Regions from separate parts of the Homo sapiens genome. Here regions 1, 2, 4, 5, 6 and 7 are each linked to region 3. The links are contacts of gene promoters, found by promoter capture Hi-C in blood cells and fetal thymus (Javierre and others, 2016). All regions are on one chromosome and are shown on one strand. Each heading gives the region's core, a stretch centred on a gene start or on the middle of the fragment in contact. The rest is flanking DNA. Distances are from core to core; before and after follow the strand shown.

Evidence for each region. The method cuts DNA at HindIII sites, captures the fragments that hold promoters and counts their contacts. A CHiCAGO score of 5 or more calls a contact.
Region 1: a fragment that was not itself captured here is called in contact with the fragment with the promoter of KLF3 in region 3 in 3 of 17 cell types (M2 macrophages, endothelial precursors and M0 macrophages); the score reaches 7.5 in M2 macrophages.
Region 2: a fragment that was not itself captured here is called in contact with the fragment with the promoter of KLF3 in region 3 in 9 of 17 cell types (endothelial precursors, fetal thymus, M2 macrophages and 6 more); the score reaches 12.3 in endothelial precursors.
Region 4: a fragment that was not itself captured here is called in contact with the fragment with the promoter of KLF3 in region 3 in 3 of 17 cell types (M1 macrophages, fetal thymus and M2 macrophages); the score reaches 5.6 in M1 macrophages.
Region 5: a fragment that was not itself captured here is called in contact with the fragment with the promoter of KLF3 in region 3 in 1 of 17 cell types (fetal thymus); the score reaches 5.6 in fetal thymus.
Region 6: a contact is called between a fragment that was not itself captured here and the fragment with the promoter of KLF3 in region 3, in 1 of 17 cell types (fetal thymus). The highest score is 9.0, in fetal thymus.
Region 7: a contact is called between a fragment that was not itself captured here and the fragment with the promoter of KLF3 in region 3, in 2 of 17 cell types (M1 macrophages and M2 macrophages). The highest score is 5.2, in M1 macrophages.

Annotation. Positions count from the first base shown.
Region 1 is chr4:38,082,222-38,085,511 of GRCh38, reverse strand. The region is part of intron 14 of TBC1D1 (TBC1 domain family member 1); the gene reads right to left. Among named protein-coding and RNA genes, the nearest start is that of PTTG2, 120 kb to the right of the region's middle. The HindIII fragment of the contact is 3,537 bases long and covers 1-3,290 here.
Region 2 is chr4:38,064,422-38,067,363 of GRCh38, reverse strand. The region is part of intron 14 of TBC1D1 (TBC1 domain family member 1); the gene reads right to left. Among named protein-coding and RNA genes, the nearest start is that of PTTG2, 110 kb to the right of the region's middle. The HindIII fragment of the contact is 8,274 bases long and covers 1-2,942 here.
Region 3 is chr4:38,662,825-38,666,023 of GRCh38, reverse strand. It overlaps KLF3 (KLF transcription factor 3), which reads right to left and starts at 1,825. Exons shown (of 6, transcript NM_016531.6): 1 at 1,563-1,825. KLF3-AS1 (KLF3 antisense RNA 1) reads left to right here and starts at 1,131. Exons shown (of 16, transcript NR_171644.1): 1 at 1,131-1,230. RefSeq lists silencers at 1,085-1,434, 1,495-2,094, 2,105-2,374, 2,405-2,924 and a promoter at 1,563-2,365. The HindIII fragment of the contact is 3,872 bases long and covers 1-3,199 here.
Region 4 is chr4:38,046,989-38,049,982 of GRCh38, reverse strand. It overlaps TBC1D1 (TBC1 domain family member 1), which reads right to left. Exons shown (of 22, transcript NM_001396959.1): 11 at 85-365. Among named protein-coding and RNA genes, the nearest start is that of PTTG2, 88 kb to the right of the region's middle. The HindIII fragment of the contact is 9,326 bases long and covers 1-2,994 here.
Region 5 is chr4:37,687,574-37,690,859 of GRCh38, reverse strand. No RefSeq gene overlaps it. Among named protein-coding and RNA genes, the nearest start is that of RELL1, 2.8 kb to the right of the region's middle. The HindIII fragment of the contact is 987 bases long and covers 801-1,787 here.
Region 6 is chr4:37,976,434-37,979,721 of GRCh38, reverse strand. All of the region lies in intron 2 of TBC1D1 (TBC1 domain family member 1), which reads right to left. Among named protein-coding and RNA genes, the nearest start is that of PTTG2, 18 kb to the right of the region's middle. RefSeq lists silencers at 1,784-2,083, 2,104-2,153, 2,274-2,393, 2,464-2,533. The HindIII fragment of the contact is 3,989 bases long and covers 1-3,288 here.
Region 7 is chr4:38,115,794-38,118,832 of GRCh38, reverse strand. TBC1D1 (TBC1 domain family member 1) reads right to left here. Exons shown (of 22, transcript NM_001396959.1): 18 at 2,879-3,039; 19 at 641-800. Among named protein-coding and RNA genes, the nearest start is that of PTTG2, 160 kb to the right of the region's middle. RefSeq lists enhancers at 341-510, 142-643. The HindIII fragment of the contact is 5,058 bases long and covers 1-3,039 here.

The sequences.
Region 1 (3,290 bases), core at 408-2,907, 580 kb after region 3:
CAGTGTAAAATGTGAGAAATGATATTCACCGCCGACTGCCCAACTGTAGAGACCACAGGCACTGACAGGCATATTTATAAAGTCGGCAAAGCCACCAAACCAAAGGGCTGCGATAACAACTTAGTCCAGGATTAGATTTTACTATTCTGACATCTCCTATAATGACGGATGTGGAGCACTTAAATTATGTAGCCTTTCAGAAACAATAGCCTCCAATGGGTTCTAAGAATTTTAAAACCAGTCATAATTCAGGAGGCCTTGGAGACAACTGCCTCCTATTAAATCATTGCTGTGACACTCCCAACAGAGTCATAAATATGATCTATGCTGGTATGTCGATATTTTAGATGCCAAATTATTCCCCAACAACTCTGTGCTGTTGCATTCTTTCTATCTGCACACAAATGTGTGGGGAAGAGGATGACATTGCATCATTGTTATGAACAGAATCAATGCCATGATCGAGAAAGACAAAAAGCAACGTGCACACCACCTCCTATCTGCCCAGTATCTGGCTCTCTCAAGTGCAGAATACAGGGCTTCTTTCTTGCACTTTCACAAAGCACTGACATTAAGTTCTGAACTGCAGTTCTCCTCCTTTTAAAGACACGACATTAAATCACATGTTAAGTGCCCTGTAAGAAAGAGGAGCTCTAGAAGGAAACGAGTAGACAGATCCTTATTCTCCAATTTTCTGGCTTTTTCTGTGTGTTACCCACCATAGAGCATTTTATAACTCTCTTCATCCCTCTTGAAAATTCTGAACTCCATGCGAAAAAAAAAAAAGAAGTTAAAAAAATTCCAGTTATTCTCAAACCTCTGTTTGAACAACATAAATCGATTCTGGAAAGGAGAAAATTGAACATTAAATCTCTGGAGAAAAGTTAACAACAACGGGATTAACATCTGCAGCGTCTGTTGTTACGAACAGCTCAAAATTTCTTAGAAAAAAACAAAGTAAAATGACCATGTAGACTTAATGTTGTCATATTGTTTACAAAGTATGAGCAGCTTTACCTCTACTACAACAGAAAGCAGAGCCCAGGAGGCAGAGATTTCTGTGTTCCCTGCCATATCCCATGCCTGGGAAACAGCAGATATGCATGGAATATTCAATGAATGAACAGATTCATTTGCCCAAGTCCACTCTCAACCCTGCCATGACTTCTGTGGATCTTTTATGGAAAATACTCCAAAGAGAACCTGATTATTTCCTACAGTTGCATTATATGACAGTCTAGCTAGAGGAAAACAGAATTTTTTAAAGACAACATTCATGGCCGGGCATGGTGGCTCACACCTGTAATCCCAGCACTTTGGGAGGCCGAGGCGGGCAGATCATGAGGTCAGGAGATCGAGACCATCCTGGCTAACACGGTGAAACCCCGTCTCTACTAATACAAAAAATTAGCCGGGCGCCATGGCAGGCGCCTATAGTCCCAGCTACTTGGGAGGCTGAGGCAGGAGAATGGCATGAACCCGGGAGGCGGAGCTTGCAGTGAGCCAAGATAGTGCCACTGCACTCTAGCCTGGGCGACAGAGCGAGACTCTGTCTCAAGAAAAAAAAAAAAAAAAAAGACAACATTCATTTGGTATAAAGAAATACTGTTAAGTTGTTGCCTCATGCCAGGCATGCTGCTAGAAATCCAAGTATGAATCAGGGTAGCAGAGAAGTACAAGACTACCAAAATAAGGGAAATACAAAGAAAGTGTTCTGGAAGTTCAGCAAAAAAAGATGAATTTCAGCCGTTTATAAGGTCAAGAGCATGGGCCCTGGAGCCAGGTATCTGGGATTGAACCTGGCTCTACCATGATCTAGCTACTCAACCTCAAACAGGTTATCTGATCACTTGCCACCTTAGTTTCCTAATCTGCGAAATCTGCATAAAACTGACTAGTTCATAGGATTATTGTGAGCATTAAGTAGGTAAATGTGTGGAAAAAAACAAGCCTGCACACAGTAAACATTTAATAAAATGTCAACTACCATTCTTCTTACCATCATTGTTGTCAGTTTTTGTGGAAAGTGGGGTGGTTCTGGAAGAACAGGTAAAATCCATACAGGTTTAATTGATGGGAGCCACTTTAGGTAAAGAACCAGCATAAACAAGATGTGCAGGTAATTATTAACTCATCACTGATAATGACCCATTTTGTCTAACGACCAGATAGTATGCGCCTGAATATAGAAGACAAGGCTGGCTGACTCTTGGTTGCTTAAGGTCTAGTCAATCCACATATTAATTGGTTAGAAATTGGGAATTCCAGAAGATTGGGGGTTTTTTAAGCAAAAGTGATCTCATATATACATTCTTTAGCACTTTAACCATATCCTGGCAGGCAGGGAGTGCACAGCCTAGTGGATCAGACACACATGAAAGGCCACTACCAAACAGTGAGAAGAAGGGCTCGAAAAAGAGCTATGGACACAGAACAGAGCACCTAACTCTGCCTGAGATGGGAGCCATACGGAGGGGAAGGGTGTGATGAGGAAAGAGGTGCACACACACTTAAAAACAGAAGCCAAGATAAGCAGAAACAAGGACCAGGAGCAAGAGGCCTGCAGATCTTTATCCCCACTCCCTCCCAAAATAGCCATTTAGGGTAAACTTCCAAGGCTGTGTAAGGATGACTTAGAGATGAGGAAGAAAAAAGTCCTGACTCAGTCTGGTTAGAGGTCATGACAACAGCTCAGAGGAGCACTGAAGACCACACGGCAGTGGGAAGTCCAGGGAAGAGAACCAGGAAGAGGCACAGAGAACAGGCCTGGGTGGGCGAGCCCAGGGCACAGAGCACCAAGAGCTCTGCGCAGCCCCAGTGATGGGCGGCTGGTGGCTCTAAATGGGAGGTCTACAGGAGCTGGAGAAGGATCAAGAAAAAGCTGTAGACAGGAGATAACGCATGGGAGAAAATTATGCTTGGAAAGAAGTGGCGTTTGTTTTTGCATCTGCAAGGGGAAGGAAGCTGTATTTTTTGAGGAGCTGAAAGTCAGGGCTCTCAGTTCTTGATTAAAGACAACAAAACTAAAGAGAAACAAATATTCCGCCTCAGCCAGAATCTTAAGTGCTGATCTTTGTAACAGTTTGCCCTATCCTATTACCATTTCTGTAACACTGATTTTCAACTGTGGTTCTTGTAATTTTATGAGACATGGTGGGGTGGAAAAGCCCACCATGGCCCCTGGTCAGTGCCACCAGGATGAGCACCTGAGGGCTGTGTCTGGGAAGCTGGGCCTTGCCTCCCCAGGGACTTCCCACCAGCAGCCACGTCACAGTGGCGACCTTCGCCAC
Region 2 (2,942 bases), core at 434-2,933, 600 kb after region 3:
GCTGTTCATCGAACATTCTCCAGCAAAAACACCTGAACAGGAAACAAACCATAATAACTTCAACTTTCTGTGAAAAACCCATCATTCTTTCAAGTATAAAATTCATAGTTTGGTACTAGAAATCATTTTCAGAATTATATAAGACCATAATTACCACGTTCCTACTTTGGTAAATAATGTTTAAAATCTTGGCCGGGAGCGTGGCTCACACCTGTAATCCCAGCACTTTGGGAGGCCGAGGCGGGCAGATCACAAAGTCAAGAGATAGAGACCATCCTGGTTAACATGGTGAAACCCCATCTTTACTAAAAATACAAAAATTAGCTGGGCGTGGTGGTGCGCACCTGTAATCCCAGCTACTCGGGAGGCTGAGGCAGGAGAATCGCTTGAACCCAGGAGGCGGAGGTTGCAGTGAGCCAAGATTGCACCACTGCACTCCAGCCCGGCGACAGAGCGAGACTCCATCGGGGTAAAAGAAAAAAAAAATCTTGTTAGTACTCATGCTGCAAATATTTTCATTTATATAGAAGTGATATAACAAATTCACTTGGAAAAAGTTCATTTAGAAGCAGTTTAATGCATCCTTTGGCTTTATCTCAGGATCTCACAAAGCGGAGAGCTCCCTGAATGTGCCATCACTGTAACCCCAGAGCCCCCAGCTCCCCTCCAGGGGGGGCATGCATAGCTTTGCCACCTCCAGGAGATGTCTGCTCTTTCATTCAAATACATGGAGGCCTGGCGCAGTGGCACAACCTGTAATCCCAGCATGTTGGGAGTCTGAAGCAAGAGGATTGCTTTAATTCAAGAGTTCAAGACCAGCCTGGGCAACATGGTGAGACCCTGTCTCTACAAAAACTGTAAACATTTAGCAGGGCGTGGTGATGCGCACCTGTGGTCCCAGGCACTTAGGAGGCTGAGGCAGGGGACTGCTTGAGCCCAAGAGGTCGAGGCTGCAGTGAGCTATGATTGTGCTACTTACTGTACTCCAGCCTGGGTGACAGAGCAAGACCCTGTCACAAACAAACAAATAAATAAATATAAATAACATAAACCACTCAACTAGGAAGCCTCTAATTTTGCTAAAAAAAAAAAAAAAAAGTTGCTAATAATGCCCCAAATGTATGCTTTATTAGCAAGAGTTAACATTTAATTCTAGAGTACTTCCAACATAAGATACATTCCTTCACACTAACACAGCCCATTACTGTACAAGCACTAATTTAAGTGAGCAAACCTATCAAAACTCTTGATAATTTACTCGTAAAACTGTCAACGGTTCATTACTGTGATTAAGAGACTAGATTTAGAGCTAAATAGATTGATACGAATCCTGGCTATGTGAACCAAGAGCTGCAGGAGACATAACTGTGTCACTCAATCTTTCTGTCCTCATCTCTTAAAAGATGGGCAGTAAGTCCAGTTGTGGTGACCCACGCCTATAATCCCAGCACTTTGGGAGGCCGAGGTGGGCGGATCACCTGAGGTCAGGAGTTCGAGACCAGCCTGCCCAACATGGCGAAACCCTGTCTCTACTAAAAAAGATACAAAAAATTAGCTGGGTCTGGTGGCAGGCGCCTGTAATCCCAGCTACTAAGGAGGGTGAAGCATGAGAATAGCTTGAACCTGGGAGGTAGAGGTTGCAGTGAGCCAAGATCGTGCCACTGCACTCCAGCCTGGGGGATAGAGCAAGACTCTGTCTCAAAAAAAAAAAAAAAAAAAGGCGGTAATACCTATGGGGATCATCTAATTGTGTAAAAGTGAAAAACACAAAATGCTTAATACATGATAAAGATAATTACAATGGCTATTATTAATATCTGATGCGCTTCATTGCAAAGAAAATAGGCTTTGTTGCCTGTTTCATCCCCTGCCATAGAACTCATTTCTAATTTTCAATGTGCTGTTTATTAATCACTCAGGACTTTTTTGGAATTTTTATCAGAATAGGAGGTCCCCATGCTTATCAGCTGCTGCGGCTTGAGGGCTCCACCCAAGATAATTCATCTCCAGCATCAGACATTTGGGGGCGTAACCCAGTAACTGGTGGTTCTACAAGTCCTCCAGGGGATTCTGGGGCACAGTTTGCAAACAGCTGACAGAAATGTAGCTACGGGCTGGGTGGGTGCAGTGGCTCACACCTATAATCCCAGCACTTGGGGAGGCCAAGGCGGATTGGCCTCTTGAGGCCACTTGAGGTCAGGAGTTCGAGACCAGCCTGGTCAACATGGAAAAACTCCGTCTCTATTAAAAAATAAAAATAAAAAAATTAGCCAGGTGTGGTGGCAGTTGCCTGTAATCCCAGCTACTCCGGAGGCTGAGGCAGGAGAATCACTTGAACTCAGGAGGCGGAGGTTGCAGTGAGCAGAGATGGTGCCCCTGCACTCCAGCCTGGGTGACAGAGCAAGACTCCATCTCAAAGAAAAAAAAAAAAGAAATGTAGGCTGGGCATGGTGGCTCACGCCTGTAATCCCAGCACTTTTTGGGAGGCCGAGGCAGGTGAATCGCGAGGTCGGGAGATGAAGACCATCCTGGTCAACGTGGTGAAACCCCGTCTCTACTAAAAACACAAAAAATTAGCCGGGCATGGCAGCGCACGCCTGTAGTCCCAGCTACTTGGGAGGCTGAGGCAGGAGAATTCCTTGAACCTGGGAGGTGGAGGTGGCAGTGAGCGGAGATCGCACCACTGCACTCCAGCCTGGGCGACAGAGCAAGATTGTCTCAAAAAAAAAAAAAAAAAGAAATGTAGCTCTGTGTGAATGCTACCAACCTGTGGCCCTCTGGCTGCCTCCCAGCTGCAGGGTCCCTGATGGAGGCACCATGGAGACTTGGCTTCCCCCAGCCTTCCCACACACTCATGAGGGCAGTGCCAGAAACCAGGGCAGCCTCCGTTTCAGCCTAGGCAGAAGAAAGGCACATGGCAGCCTGCAGGAAAGCCTAGGGCC
Region 3 (3,199 bases), core at 576-3,075:
GTTTCTATTAACAGCCTAAGGTCAACTAACATACCTCTTTTCAAACCAGAAGAAATCACTCGTGGACACTTTCCTTAAACACTATTACTAACTCCAAAAAATTTGTAGATATTAATGCTAGCAGATTGTTTTTTCCCCTAAAAGCAAGTCTTCTTCCCTAGGGTGAGGCAGATCATCCAGATGAATTTCTCTTATAAAAATGCTCCTCAAATTCGTACAGAAAAGGATAGCACAAAACTGCTGTGTGGAAAAACCTATAATGAACAACTGGCCTATTCCCCACTTGATTTTGCTGGCACATTTCAGGTACTTGTCAGAATACCACTTCATACTTTTTCCCATATACCAGACTCTTGTGAGAATATAATCAATATATTTAAAATGTCTTGGGTGATATTAATGGAAACATAAATTCTGAGTAAGAAATTCAGTGGTTAAGTGTAAAATGTTTATTTTAGTGAAATACAAGAAGGTGAGCAATTTCCAATTTCCGTTTAACTTGACTTATTAAAAATAAGTCTCATTCACATTCTTCTAGTATTATTGTATACTGCTATAAAATTTAAACCAGAAAAGTGCTTCTCCTTGTCAGTAGCTATCTGCCCAAAAAAATGAATATGACAATTCCAGATCTCATCTGCCATCTCTAAGAAAGCCACTTGGAAATGTTAGGTAGGTCCCATGGGTCCTGATCCAGGGATCTGTCCCTGGGTCCCCATCAGGCTCGGCTGCAGGCAGTTGCCTAAGGCGTCTTCCGCCTTCAGCCACGCTGCAATCCTTGCTCCAGGCACTGCGGCAGGTTCTCTCCATGCCCCCAGGAAGACTCTCCAAACCCGACCAGCTCATTTCTCCTGCCCCGGAGGATCCAGACGCCCTGGCAGCTCCTGGGCTCCAGAACCGAGAATGGGATGCTGCCTCCAATCCCAATTGCCCTAAGTTTCTTTCCAGAGGGCCGGGAGACTGCTCCAAGTTTGCTGTGGCGGGCGAGCGGCCGCGCGCCGTGTCCTGGGAGGGGGGCGGCGGGGGGCGCGGGCGGAGGGAGGGGAGGGGAAGGACGCGGGAGCCTGGGTTGTGGTGGTGGTGGGGGGGCACCGGGAGGGGGAGGAGCAGGAGCGCGCGGCCGCGGCGCTACCTTTCTCCAAACAACGTTGCCACACGCGGAGAGCACGGAGATTTCTGGGGCTTTGGAGGGAATCGTGAGCGGGCGGGAGGAGGCCGGGGACCACACAGGTGAGCCCCCGCCCGCGCCCTGCCCGGGACGGCGGCGGGCGCTGCCAGCCCCGCTCCCCCGCACCCGGGGTCCGCACGGTGCCTCGCCTCAACCCCTCACTTTTCACCGCGAACCCGTGACCCCCTCCTCCTTGCTTGCTCTCCGCCCCCACCCCGGCTAAGTGTAGCCGCCACACTTTCCCAAGCCCGCAGGCGCCCCCCCCAACACCAGCGCTGCACCCCCGACCCATTCCCCGCGGCCCCCTCCAGGAGAAAAAATGAAACCAGACTGGCCGAGGAGGGGGGCGGCAGGGACCAGGGTGCGGAGCAGAGGTGAGGGAGACGGGACTTACTTTGCGAGGCGCGGTGCAGGGCGCCGCCGACGAGAAATAAAGGCCCCGATACGGGCTGCCTGGAGCCCCCCGAGCGCAGCAATGTCAGGGCTCCAGTCCGGGCGGCGTTGGCGGCCGCAGGGGACGGGGACGGGCGCGCGTGCGGCGGGCGCTCTCGCTGCGCTCCGGCTCGGGCCCCGGCTCCGCGCGGCTCCGCTCCTGGCTCCCCTCTGGCTCCTGGCACCAACTCCGGGCAGTCACATGACGCCGGCGCCGCTCGCTCTGCGAGCCTCCCGGGGCTGGCGGGGTAAGTAGAGGCTGGGACCCGGGGTGGGAGGGTCAGGGAGGGGAGAGGGAGCCGCCGCGGCCGCCCGGGCTGGGCGGGTCCCCACCCACTTGGGTGGAGGCAGCCGCCGGAGGGGTCGGCCGAGTCACTCGCGCAAACACGCACCCCGCCCTGCGCCCTTCCCCCGCCACCCCCGCCTCCCGCGCCGCCTCCGCCCCGCCCCGCCCAGTCACCCGGGGACGGCCTGACAGACACTCATTATTCCCCGGAGCCGGGCGCCGCCCCGCCGGCCCAACCTGTCCCACGAGGCGCGGCGCGGCCGTGGGGCTGGGCGTGCGCGGCGCGGCCTCCGCCCCCCGCCCGCGTCCCCGCCCGCGTCCCCTCCCCGCGCCCTCCTCCCCGGAGTCCGCGCCCCGCCAGCCCTCCCGCCCGGCCCAGCCGCCGCGCCGCCGCCCGAGCCCGGGGGGAAGGAAGGGCGGCGCTGCCCGCTCCGGGCGTCACACGGCTGCGGCCCGCTGCGCTGCTTCCAAAACACACAGCCGGGCTCGCGGGCGAGCCGAGGCGGGGGGCGCGGGCTGCCAGGGCCATCGATCAGCCGGCTCCAGCGGGAAGGGCGGCCCCGGGCGCGGCGGGAAGGGCTGGGCCCCGCGGCCGGCGCGGCGCGGCGCGGCCCCTCCTCGGCTGAGCGCACTCAGCTCACTGCAAGAGAAAAGCCGAGCCGAGGCGGCCGCGGTGCAGGAGCGAGTGGGCCGGGCGGGTTCGGGAGGGGAAGAGCGGCCGCTGGGGCGCGCCGAGCCTCCCTGGCCCCGAGTCGCCGGGGTCAGGGGACACCCTGTAGGCGCGCTCTTTCTTTGTGCCCTGGGGCGACGGGTCCCCCTGGCCGGCGGCCCAGGCGGCGCCCCCCACCTCGTGGGACTTTTCTTTGAAGGCCCGGAGACCCCTGGGGCAAAACTCCCACGGGCCAGGCCTGCCGCTGGAGCTAAAAAGCGGCATTTGCGCAGTTGGGCTTGCCTGGAAACTTGGCAAACTTTGGTCGGATCCTCCCCTGCAGAGCGAGGGCCTGGCCTGGCGACCCCCTCATTTCAAGTCGCTTCTAGGGACCTAGCGCCCTAAGCTCAGTGGCCTTCAGGGTGCTGCGAGCGAGCGGGGCGGCACAAAAGCGCGTTCGGTCCAAGCCAGGCCCCTTCGAGGACTTTGTGTAGATTGGTACCTAAGTTTAATGCCTTTTGAGTTTCTTTTTAAACAGTATTAATGTAATAATTAATGTAATAAAAAGAACAAAGGACGAATTCGTTCGATTGTTTTAAGTTCTGTGTAATGTTTAAAACCGCCCCTGCTTCAGTGTATGGCTTATTATTGCTTCAAGATGTTT
Region 4 (2,994 bases), core at 360-2,859, 620 kb after region 3:
CAATAAACATACCTGGGATGCACATACCTGGCTAGTCACAGATATGCCCCAGCTATTTATGCAACAAATTTAAACAAATCTTACTTTCGTTCATGAGGCGTCTCTGTGCTCACTGAGTGATACCTCATAAGTTTCCTTTGCGAAACCCCCGGGGACCCCCGGGCAGGTTGTGGAGGTTCCTGGCATTCGATGGGGAAGTGACTCAGGGTGTTTGCTCGCCTCCTGAAGGCCTGCTGGGGCGACAGCGGAGCTGGCTCTTCTGGGAGATGACTCTCCGAGTCACTGGACAGGTCCTCCGAGGAGCCGAGGAGCTTAAAGGAGCTCTCAGAGATGGGCAAGGCCTCCTTTTCACACACAGATGGCTCCTGGGAGCAAACACACAGCAGATCAGACACACCATGGGGAATATGTGGGATTTATAAATCTCTAGTTCCTGCACGGGCAAACATTGCAGTATCTAAGTATGTGTTCTGATTATAATGCCATCTAGAAGCCACCACCAAAAGCAGAAGAAAATGAAGGTCCATTAAATAAATGCCCGCTCCTCAAGGACACACTGCTGGCTTGCTGGAGAAATGGGGAGACTGGCCAAGTGCAGGAGTGAAGGACATAAGCCACAATCTGTAACGTTCTGAACAACGCCATGAATAGTGCCCTCTCTCTAGAAAACAGGACTGTTTACTGCAGCTTCTAAGGGGTGTGAGTGCTGGAGAACTTGTCTCCACTGCTTAACCAAGTTCTTTATCTTTGCCACATGTGTTCACTCATGTTAAACCCACATTTTAAGGCTCTCTCCGAATCTGATCTACTGTTGAGATTCGACTTCATAATTTGAGATTAAGAACTGTATCAATATTCTTAGAATATGGAAAATCACTCTGTAGGCACTTACTGCTGCAATTCAGGGCAAATAATTTCTTTCTGCACCTCAATTTCTTCTGTAAGAGGGTAAAGTAAAAATGTATCTGAGTTTCAAGAACAAAGCAAGATGATACAACCAAAAGTACTTTTTATGTTGTAAAATGTTACACAAACATAAGTTATTGTTTTATTAGGTATGCAATAAATCTATGGAGTGAGTGCTCAAACATTTGTTGAGAATCATGACAATATTTTAAAGTTGTATGCCTTCACGATGCACGCTTTTTCAAAGGAATGAACTACTACCACTCAAGCAAACTGATGTTTAACACTGCACCCAGGACGTGGCTAGTGGCCAATATATTTTTAATATATTCAAAATATTCAAAAAGAGGAATTGTAGCAGCTTGCTCCTATTGAAATTGTTGGAAGAGAAAAAATAAATCAACAGGAATAGAGTAAACAAGAATGAATGCATCTAACAGTGGACTGGAGACTGAATTCTACCTGTTCATTTACACAGTTGAGTGCCTTTTAGGTAACAAGTATTGAGGGTTTTAATTTGAAAAAAAAAAAAAAAGAAATGTGTTTACCAAAGGGAGAAGTTACATACATTTAATTGTATAAGAATTAGGAAAAAATTCCCAACATACTATGAAATATTGATTACTTTCATAACTGAAGTTTTTCATTCTTCAGGACTCAACAGTTGTGAAGATTCTTTTAAGGATTTAAAAGTCTCTCTAAGACAATACATCACAGAACACAATCTCCATCATGCAAACCTGTTGATCTAAATTCTTACTAATATCCCTCCAAATCATATCAAAGAGCTAACCCTTAGCTTAATTGGACAACTGAAAGGGCCATTTTCATTTGTCAAGTTTCAGGGCTATTTGGTTTCTTTGCAACTCCTAGGTGATCAATTTTTTAGAAGGGATCCAATTACATAAAATAGAATATAGTAGTTTCTCAATTCAAGATGAATAAAAGAAAGATGTAAAGTACACTTAAACATATACAATACATACAAGCAGCTTCTGAAAAGTTGCATCTCTCTTAGAATGACTCTAGAAATTGCAATCTTAGACAGACTTTTAAATCCTTTTAAAAGAATCTTCACAACTATCGAGTCCTGAAGAATGAATATGTATATATTCCTAGATCTGCCTTTTGGAGAAAAATAAAAAGCAAGCAATAAGGCTTACTGGAAAGCCCACTGAGTGACATGAATGTCTTCATGGTATGTCTATTGACACTGGTCTGTCTAGAATGCCTTCTTCTCTGTTCACTTCCATAGGCACAATTCCTACACCAAGATTTAGTCCAAAAGCATCACTGCCCCCTCACCCCTCACCTTTTCCCTGGTTCCACTGACCAAACCTAACTTCCCTTCCCCTTGCTCTTCTGACACTGAAGTTACCAATGTCTCTTATTTGTAACTTCTGGGCTCCTACCACACTCTGCTTGATGCTGGGGCTGTTTCTGTATCTGTCATCTCTCTCCTCCTAGGTAACTTCCTACATGAAAGGGGCGGTGTGTGGTTCATCTGTACACAACAAATAAGCAAATAGCCTTCCCACACTTGCAATGAATTGCAGGGTGGGATCAGTGTGTATTAGATGGAGGCTGGACGACACTATGTTCCCCTGGATTTTAACTCAGAAACTCACATTTACAAGACTGCTGTCTAGGACCTCACTCCCCAGAGGCGGTCTGCAGACCAGGAGCAGCAGCATTGCCTTGGAGCTTGTCAGAAATGCAGCATTTCAGGGCTCCCCCCACCCTGCCTACTGAACCAGAATCTGCACTTTAACCAGTCTCAGCTACTCAGGAGGCTGAGGCAAGAGAATGGCCTGAACCCGGGAGGCGGAGCACCTGAAATTTGAGAAGCACTCATCCATCTAAGGAAGTGTTTCTCAAACTGCTCCCTCTATCATGTTAGTAGGTGGTACAACTGAGTAGTTTGCCATGAGCATTTTAAAAATAAAATAGAACAAAATATCAGTATGTATTGTATGTTGTTCACAGTAAATATTGTTTTGTGAACTTTTAATTTTGTGTGTGAATGTGTAGGTATGTGTGTTTGTGAACTACGCCACAATGTTAAATGTGCTTCTTACTGTAGGTTAG
Region 5 (3,286 bases), core at 45-2,544, 970 kb after region 3:
CACACAACAGTCCCCCACAACAAAGAATTACTGGACCAACAATGTCCACAGTGTTGAGAAACCTTGCAGTCTAGCCTGACTTAGCACCCCTATCATTTGATTACTCATTATGGTATAGAATCTTAGGGCTGGATGGGAACCTTTAGAAATCATCCTATCATCCTTGTATTTTATAGGTTGGAAGACCAACCCAAAAGAAGCTGCAGAGAGTAGAGTGAGCGAATCTTTGGCAGGGCTGTGTCCCCTGACCCCTGGGCTGTTGGCCATTTCTTTTTTTTTTTTTTTTGAGTTGGAGTCTTGCTCTGTTGCCCAGGCTGGAGTGCAGTGGCGCCATCTCGGCTCACTGCAAGCTCCGCCTCCCGGGTTCACGCCATTCTCCTGCCTCAGCCTCCCAAGTAGCTGGGACTACAGATGCCTGCCACCACGCCCGGCTAATTTTTTGTATTTTTAGTAGAGACGGGGTTTCACCGTGTTAGCCAGGATGGTCTCGATCTCCTGACCTCGTGATCCACCTGCCTCAGTCTCCCAAAGTGCTGGGATTACAGGCGTGAGCCACCGCGCCTGGCCAGCCATTTCTGTTCACTTATGCAACAGTTCCCTTTCTCCCAGGTAGGCTTAAAACTTTAAAAGCAAAGTTAGAATCTTTTTCTTAAGCTTGTAGTGACTCTCCCCTCCAACCCCTCATGCTCAGCCCAGTACTAGGAACACAGCACATATCTGTTGTCATATCAAAATAGCCCCAGATTGTGTAAAATATTTTATTCCCCTTCAGACATATTTTTTAAAAAGAAATGTAAGCTTATCTCCTGCATATAACCTCTCAAAAAGAGAGATGAGTACATCTAAATCACAAAAGAAATCCTACAGAGGCCTTCTGCGGAAGCATGTTCAACATTAATTAGAGTAAATACCAGCCTAGTGAGGCTTATGCATTTAAATGATGGTGATGAAAATCACCAGCTTAGCAGTTCAGAGGAAAACAGGAAAGGTTTCTACTAAGGGGAATGATTAACTGAATCCTTACAGAGAAACTGAAAACAATGAAAATCAGAAAGGACATCACATTGTATATGTTTGTAAATTTGATCCTATACACTCTGATTTTTAATCCATTCCCATCAATCAATAAATTATTCTCACTGAGGAAAAATATGTAAGCAATTGTTGAAACAGAGTTCAAAAAGGCTAGGTTAAACATGCAATGAAGGAATATGAGAACAATACTTTAGATTGCAAAAGAGGAGCTAGTTGGCTGGAGTTCTGCATTTCAGAGGCAGAATAGTGCAAGAGGAGGTTGCAAGTGTGGGCCCAAGGGAGCTGATCCTGGATTTGCATCCTGGTGGTGCCAGGGAGAGGCCATGTGACTCAGGTAAATGCCCTAATCCCTCAGCTTTGAAGTGAGGAGTGTTAACAATGATTCCCTAAATATAAAATCATTGTGAGGAATTGATGAAAGAATACAAAAAGAGTTCCCACCATAGGATTGGGCTAAATCTAAGGGCAGAATGAGGATTATTGTTTTTAATTAATGACAGTTATTCTTAAGAATTATTAAAACTCTACTTTTGTTTCTGAAAAAATGGAAATACAACTTAGTTTTAAGATTTCCATTTTATGTCCTCAGAAGAAATATGACATTCCCTTCATAATAGAGAATAGAAGTTCCATTACATTGGGGTTCTTACTTTTAAAATAAAACAGTGGATTTTTAGATATACATATGTAGAAGCTATTTAAATTGTATGAATAAATCTGTAGGGTTAAGGATATGGAAAATAATTTAAGCTTGATTTTCTTTCTTTCCTCTCTCCTTCCCTTCTTCACTTTCCTCCGTCCCTCCCCCTCTCTTCCTCCTACCCTTCCTTCATTCCTTTAACAAGACATACAAATGCATGTATACGGGGTACGTGAAAGTAAGACATTTATAGAGAGTGTGTCAAGCAGGTGTTATGGAAAGTTTAGGAAGAGAAATTTCAGAGCCCTGGGTTTCAACCCTGGCTCATAGTAGATATGTCAGGCAGATCACTTAACCATCTCTCATCTGTAAAACAAAGGGCCTGGTAGATAATGGGTAAGGCTTAAGTACTAGATTTTTATATTTGAAGAGCCATAACAGATATACAATTCAAATGTGTTGTTAAAAATGATCCCGTCTTTCTTTTTTTTTTTTCTTTTTTTCTTTTGAGACGGAGTCTCGCTCTGTTGCCCAGGCTGCAGTGCAGTGGCACAATCTCGGCTCACTGCAAGTTCCGCCTCCCGGGTTCACGCCATTCTCCTGCCTCAGCCTCCCGAGTAGCTGGGACTACAGGCGCCCGCCACCACGCCTGGCTACTTTTTTGTATTTTTAGTACAGATGGGGTTTCACCGTGTTAGCCAGGATGGTCTACGATCTCCTGACCTCGTGATCTGCCTGCTTCGGCCTCCCAAAGTGCTGGGATTACAGGCTTGAGCTACTGCGCCCAGCCAAAAACGATCCCATCTTTTTAATACTAAGTCCAATCTGTGGGAAAAGAGTGAAACATGATTCAATTTTGAAATGACATTTTACATTTTGATTAGATTTCTTGATTCAAGCATTTTGTTACATTCTAACTTACAAAACCAGAGCTGGCTTTATAAGTGTGTGACCTGTGCAACTGTGTGTTTAGGAGGGCTCCACAATCGATTTAATGTTGTGTTGTTGCCATCTTGAAATTCTTAACGATTTTTGAACAGAAGGCCCTGCCTTTTCATTTTGCATTGTGCCCTGCAAATTTTATAGCTGGTTCTGGCTACAACTTCTAATTTATAGTTTAATTTCTAGGTCCGGGATTCTCTCCTGTTTTAGTTAGAAATCCACATGGATCGCTTTCCTCCGCACACATTCTCAATGTTTATGTTGATATAAAACTAGCAAAGGCTGCCTGCTAAGACTGCCAGACTGTAGGATGCGCTGCCAACTGAGCGCAGGACGCGCAGTGCCCTCCTTGGGCTTCAAAGGGCAGGGGCTCCATCCTTCAGCCTCAGCCATCTGTACTGTAGTGGCCTGAGCTTCTGTCACTGGCAATTCCCACATCAATGCAATGTTTGTAATAATAGTCCAGCAGACTGCGTGGAGGACTCGGTGAGAGAATAAATAGTCCTCTGAAAACTAGAGGTTATCAGTCACCTCAAGGATGAGACCCATCCTGTGAAAACCCACAGCCTCCATGCACCCCCTCTTCTTGCTGGTGTTGAGTATTTGCTCAAGTCCTGCCCTAATTTCCTTCAAGCAAATGCTTGATGGCCCAGTAACAACAGTCTCTAC
Region 6 (3,288 bases), core at 76-2,575, 690 kb after region 3:
CCCACCAGGTGTTCAGCTGCAGTTGCAAAGGTCAAAATGAAAAAGGAAAAGGAAAGTCAGCTGCGTAACTGGATGTGCAGGTGTTTGTGTGAGGCCTGTGCTCATGTGCAGCTGTGTGTTTCTGAAGGGGCATTCTGAAGTCAAATATAACAACTTCAAGATTATTCACATTGTGTACATTATCTATGCCTTTTGTCTTTGTCTTTAGGATATTACCTAGTTTGTAATGTAAAGTGTGTTAATGACTTGCCTCTTCACCGTAAACCACATCAGTTCCATAGAACATCATTCTTACAATCTATAACTCCAAGAAATAAACTTCCAAAGACTAATTTCGTATTCTAAAATCTTTCACAGGATAACACGTTATCTATAAAAATCATTCAATTTCGGGATATAATTTGTAATGCATGCACCACCTACAGGAAATGAAATATAAAATAACCACATTTTAAAAATGTATGCTAAGAGGTATACATGAATTTGCTCCAAAAACATTTAATAGTTTTTCCGCTGTTGTCCTGTAATCGAAATAATAATTTTGAGGGCGGGTGTGGTGGCTCACATCTGTAACCCCAGCACTTTGGGAGGCCAAGGTGGGGGCATTACTTCAGCCCAGGAGTTCGAGACCTGCCGGGCCAATATGACAAAACCCCATCTCTACTGAAAATACAAAAATTAGCTGGGAGTGGTGGCGCACAGCTGTAATCCCAGCTACTGGGGAGGCTGAGACACAAGAATCGCTTGAACCTGGTAGGTGGGGGTTGCAGTGAACTGAGATCGCACCACTGCACTCCAGCCTAGGTGACAAGAGTAAGACTCTGTCTCAAAAATAATAATTTTGAAATAACAAGATTCAGAATCCAAATTAAGCTACCAGCCTACATTTCCTCTATATAAACTTTTCCAACGTACTGACACTCGGAGAAGGCTAACAATCGTCCTAAAAGTCTGTGATGGTTTTTGAAATGACTTTTTAATGACTCAAAACGTTTTTGAAAGTCATCTCATTTTACCACCAGCTATGTTTCAGGAAGTGATTCTAATGGAATGTTATTTACCTAGTAAGAAAATCTACCTAAAAACTTTTGCCCATCTAAAAACTAGTGTTATCTAGTTTCTGTGTCTCCAATTTTGTATCACTTAAATCACAGGCAAAGCCATACCTGCTCACAAACAGGTATTCATAAAAATGTAATTAAATAAGACTATAAAAGCATTGCATGATAACTCAAGACATAACCACCACCTAATTAAATTATTAATTGGTAAAGCCTCACAGTATGGCTAACGAGTTGTGAGCTTATTACTCAACCAGCCATACACAGGAAACAAGCCCTGGGAAGGCGCCGGCCAAGGGACTGAGTGCATGGGGTGACAGCAAGATGCCCTAACGACCAGCGAGCCTTTCAAGGTGGCGAGGGTCGCATCCTTTAAAACACATTCAGACACCTGGCACTGCAGGAGTGGATAAAAAGAATGCTATTGATGCTATTACTGTGTTCTCGAACTGGTGGGAACTCGGGAAATCTACACTTATGCCTTCCTGTTAGCAACAGTGCAACTGGCCTGGATTTGCACCACCCAGTTATCTCGAAGGCGCTGATGTTCTGAAAATAAAACTTTGTGGGAATGGAAAGTTAAAAACTTCTATTTAAAACTCAGACCTCAGAACATGCCCTTTGAAACCAGAGGGTTAAAAACGAAAGACAGACGCCCCTTGTGGGCACCAGCCTCTGGGCATCCTCGGCGCCCTGTCCAGGCGGCCCAGCGCAAGCCGACTTCTGCGAGGGAGACACACGAGGGCGACACCCGCGAGGGAGACACGCGGGGTCGACTTCCGCGAGGTCCCGCGCCGGGGAGGCACCGAGCGGCAGCTCCGCGGCGCGGGGAGCGACAGGGGCCGGAGGAGCCGCCTGCTGGGTTCGGGCTCCCGCAGGGGTCCCCGAGTACAGCCTCAGTCTCCCCAACTGTGAAATGGGCGCCGCTACCTCGCCCGTCCTCCCCACAGGGATCTGGGAGACTAATGAATGAGAAACGCGCGGCTAACGACCTGGTCGCGCCCGCCGCTCGCCCCCCGCCGCGCCTGGCCTCCAGCGGCCCGGCCCAGCCCCGGCCCGAAGGTTACAAATGTTCCAGCCCCGCGCCTGCCGCTCCGCTCCGGTAACGGGCGCCCGCCCGACGCCGCCTACCTTGGCCACCCAGCTGAACAATGGTGACATCGCGGGCCGGGCGGCGGCTCTTCGCCCGCCGGCTCCCGCTCACTCCCGCCGCCGGCCCGTGGGCCCGCGGGCGGCCGGGGGCGGGCTTGGGGAGCGGCGGGGCCGGGGCATCGCTCTCCCCGGCGGCGGCGGCGGCGGCGGCGGGCTCCACCCAGTTCGTCACTGCCCCGAGAGGTCGCGCCCGCGGGGCGGCCAGGCAGAGAAAGGGAAGTGGGAGGGGAGAGCGCGGGGAGGGGGTGGGCGGGGGGAGGAGGGGAGAGGAGGGGAGGGCGCGCAGCCGACCCCGCCCACCCCCGCGCTCCGCTGCTGGCGGGAAGTTGGGACATGCTGGGGTCGCCCCCTTCCGAGATGCCCAGGGCTGCGCAGGAAACCCTGGAGGCTGGGGACGCGCCTTTCCAGGCCTCTGGGGTCCGTTTCGCACAACTTTCAGAAATCTAAGAATTCCTCCCTCTCCGAGGTTCCACAAAAGCCCCAGAGTTGGAGCTAACACAAAGCCCGCCCAACTTTCCAGGGGTGACCCCCACCCCCAGGGCTTTTCTTCCTAAGCGCTTTAGATTGCTAGTAACAAAAGACCAGTGTTCCCCAGCCCCTAATACCTTTATATAATCAAAGGTGGTTTTCTTGGAGTCAGGAAACTCGGCCATTGAGACCAAAAGTGGGGCAGAGGAAAAAGAACCATTTAGCTCCTGCCTGCCAGGAGGCTTTAGCAACTTGAGAAATGTTGATTTCACCATAGTTTTCTTCTCTCCCAAGGCAAGATGATGAGACAAGGTGGTCAGTTTATGGCTACAAAGGTAAAGCTGAGTTTCAATCCCAGCCACTCCTGAGTTCCACGTTGAAAAAAAAAAAAGTCCAAAGGTTTAATCGCTGATGTGTTATGCATGTGTCAGGTGGAACCACTCACTGAGTTCCTCAGGCCAAATGGCCAACCCAGCCCAAGAATTCTGCTTCTCTTTTCCTTCTACTAATTGTGCATTATCTTCTTGAAGGACCATTGGGACATTTTAATGTTGTTCCCTAAATATCTGGCATCTGAGTTTAGTGAGGGTATTAGCTACCTATTGCT
Region 7 (3,039 bases), core at 500-2,999, 550 kb after region 3:
TTTTACATGTGAACCACCCAAGGTTAACAGCGGGGGCACGGGAGTGGCAGTGGCTGTGACATGTGGGCTCAGGGGCAAGAGGCCTTCATGAAGTGTCAAGGCTGAGCGGGGAGAGCGAGCCATCCACACGGAGGTGTTACTCAAGGTCCTGACACTGGTCTCCAAGACAGTGACTTGGGAGAAAGTGTAGAGCCAAGGGCAGGGCAAGAAGAGAAAGGGGAGGAAGAGATGCCAAGGGAATCTAGAAAGGGCCCAGAGGCCCACAGTCAGCATCAGTCAATACTCACAACCCAGAGTGGCTGAGGAAGGCAATTCATGAGAAACATACACCTGTGGCTCCTCAGCCAAGTCCTCCAAATGTCTGCTCTAGGGAGACCCTCATGGTGAGCGATCGGATCTACACGGATCGGATCCACATCCCACAAGATGAAGGCATCTAGGGAAGCCCCGTGATTATCAGAAGTTAAGGAGGACTCCAAAGTCACAAAACCCACCCCTGACTAATCTTAGACTATCAAACAATACCCTGTTCTGGTAAGAGCTACAGGTATAAAAATAAGAATCACCACGGAGAGACAGGAAATGTTTCCCCTCTAATAAGAGAAGGCTGGTTCTGGCAAACAGATTTACTAATGCTCACCAAAGACTCTGGCTACGAATCCCAGCGGGAACTGTGAGGCAAACATGGTGAGGAACCAGGGGGCAGCGTAGAGGCTGGGGCCGATCTCGTGCTCCTCCAGGTGATTGTAGAGGTCTCTGTGGTAATCATGAAGCAACCTCGAGAGCTGGTACATCTGGATCTGCAGGAAGACAGCCACAAGGGCTGAGAATTAGGGATCTGCCACAGCAATAAAGTTATGCCTACTGCTCACAGGGTGGGTGTAAGAGAAGACTTACTAGAACTTTAAACATTCGATTTGGCTTGCGATCCACTGAGCTCAGCTACTAATTCATCCAACAAGTGCTTCCCAAGTGCCTGCTGGTGCCAGGCACTGGCTGGGTGTAGGCCCAGGACGCTAACGCTGGGTCTTCTACTGCCACTTCCTTTTTATTGTTCCCTTGTATTCCTCCACTAAGAAGATCTAAAAATCTGTCTTGTGCAAACATTTCATAAATTCTCTTACAAATACATACTCTTTGCACAACTCAAGCCTGGAGGAATTAGAAATAAGAAGCCAGTCTCTTTACTAAGACTGAATTAGGGGCATCTTATGATTCCATAGGAATCCATTGTACATGTTCACTCAGCAAGTTCCCTCTGGACCCCTGAAATTACTCAATAGGCAGGAGAAGCATAATTTCTTTTGGTGTATAATATATGGAATATCCAGATACCTGGCAAGTTAAAACAAGAAGACAAGTGTGCATCTTAAGATGAAATAAAAACTTTTTCCAACTAAAGTGGAACTCCAACTTCACAGAATGACATGATTCTGGCAGAAATCTCATGCCAGTTCCTAGTAGTGCCACCAAGAGTTACAGGCTCACAGAGGCCCGAGAGCCAGCCCAGATCTGAGCAGTGCCACGGCCTGAGCCTAAAGAAACAACAACCTACAGAGGGTCAGAATCCGCTAAGATCCACCAAGTTGGATATGTCCTATCTAAACTGAGAGAAAGAAAACAAAACCGTTTTCAGAGGCTCAGATAATATAATCCCATAAGCACCAGCTGTGGCTCTCCCATATCGAAGACTGTCTAATCAACCAAAGGCACCACCCCAAAAGAGTTGTGTGTTACATAAATTATAGAAAACTCAAAAATTCCACTGCCTGGTGACCACTGTCTTTAAAGTTAATAAAGGGAATGTAGGAAGAACCTCACAGTACATGTGGAAAGTGTTATGTGGTCAAAATCTTTCAGTGAATGAGTTCCTTCTATGATATTTGCATTCACGTGGTCCATGTTCACAGGTCAAGGTGAAAAGATTTTGAATCACATAATTTGGTGCTCTCAAAGCAAGTCCTTGGCTCTAATGTATTCCCTCCCAGGATACTCTCTAGAGCTCTGAAGGCATAGTATCTTACTGGTAGTAAATGAACATATCAACATGTGCTGCAACATTTAGGAATATTCCTGAAGCAGGATCCAGAGTTTTCCCTCTGACAGGCAGCAAGAGCAGCACGTGGTATTTGCAATACGCTACTGTGTTTGGTTTTCTCTGACAGAATTGTTCATTCAACAAATACTTATGGGGTGCCTACTTCAACCCACGCACTGTTTCAGAAACTAGGAACTCGGCTCCAAGACCCGTAAGATCCCTTCCCTCTCCTAAAGTTCACAGGCTATGAAAAATCAGAAAATAGACAGGGAGATGATTATGGAAACAAGATCATTTCTGGCAGTGGCTGTGTTGTGCAAAAGAAATCAGCCAGGATAACGTGACGCAGTGTGCCCAAGGTGGAAGTGGGGAACACAACATCAGGGTAGTCAGAATGAGCTTCTCCCAGGATGTGATATTTGAGCTGAACCTGAGATGACAAGGGTGGGGGTGAGGCAGAGGAAGAGCAGATGCAGAGGCTGGGAGGTAGGTCTGAGATCATCTGATGGCTGATGGGGGCAAGAGGGAAGGCCCTAGAGTCAGAGAGGCCTGGGTTTCCAGTCCAGCTCTGACACTTGCTAGCTGTGTGACTGGGCCCAATTTATAATCTCTTGGAGACTCAGTTTTCCAATCTACAAATTGAGACGATGAACAGTGTCTTCCTTAGAGGGAAGTGCAGATGAAGCGCTTGGAATAATGCCTAGCACAGAGTCCTTTATCAGCAGTGACAGCTATTACAATGTTACCTGACGGTGAAAAAGCTCCTGAGGCACATCTGGAGAGGGATAAGAAACATTCTTAGCATTTTGTTGTATTAAAGACATAAGGAACACTCTATACCTGTAAAATAATCATGTCTGGCCGATACTGTTTCCGCAGCCCCATGTCAAACATCAGAAACTTGAGCATTTTAAACGCCTCTTCCTCACTCATATGAAGAAGCAAAATGCCTGCTACAAAGCTGAGACCTTGGCAATATCCCACTTCCTGGTCTAGAAGTG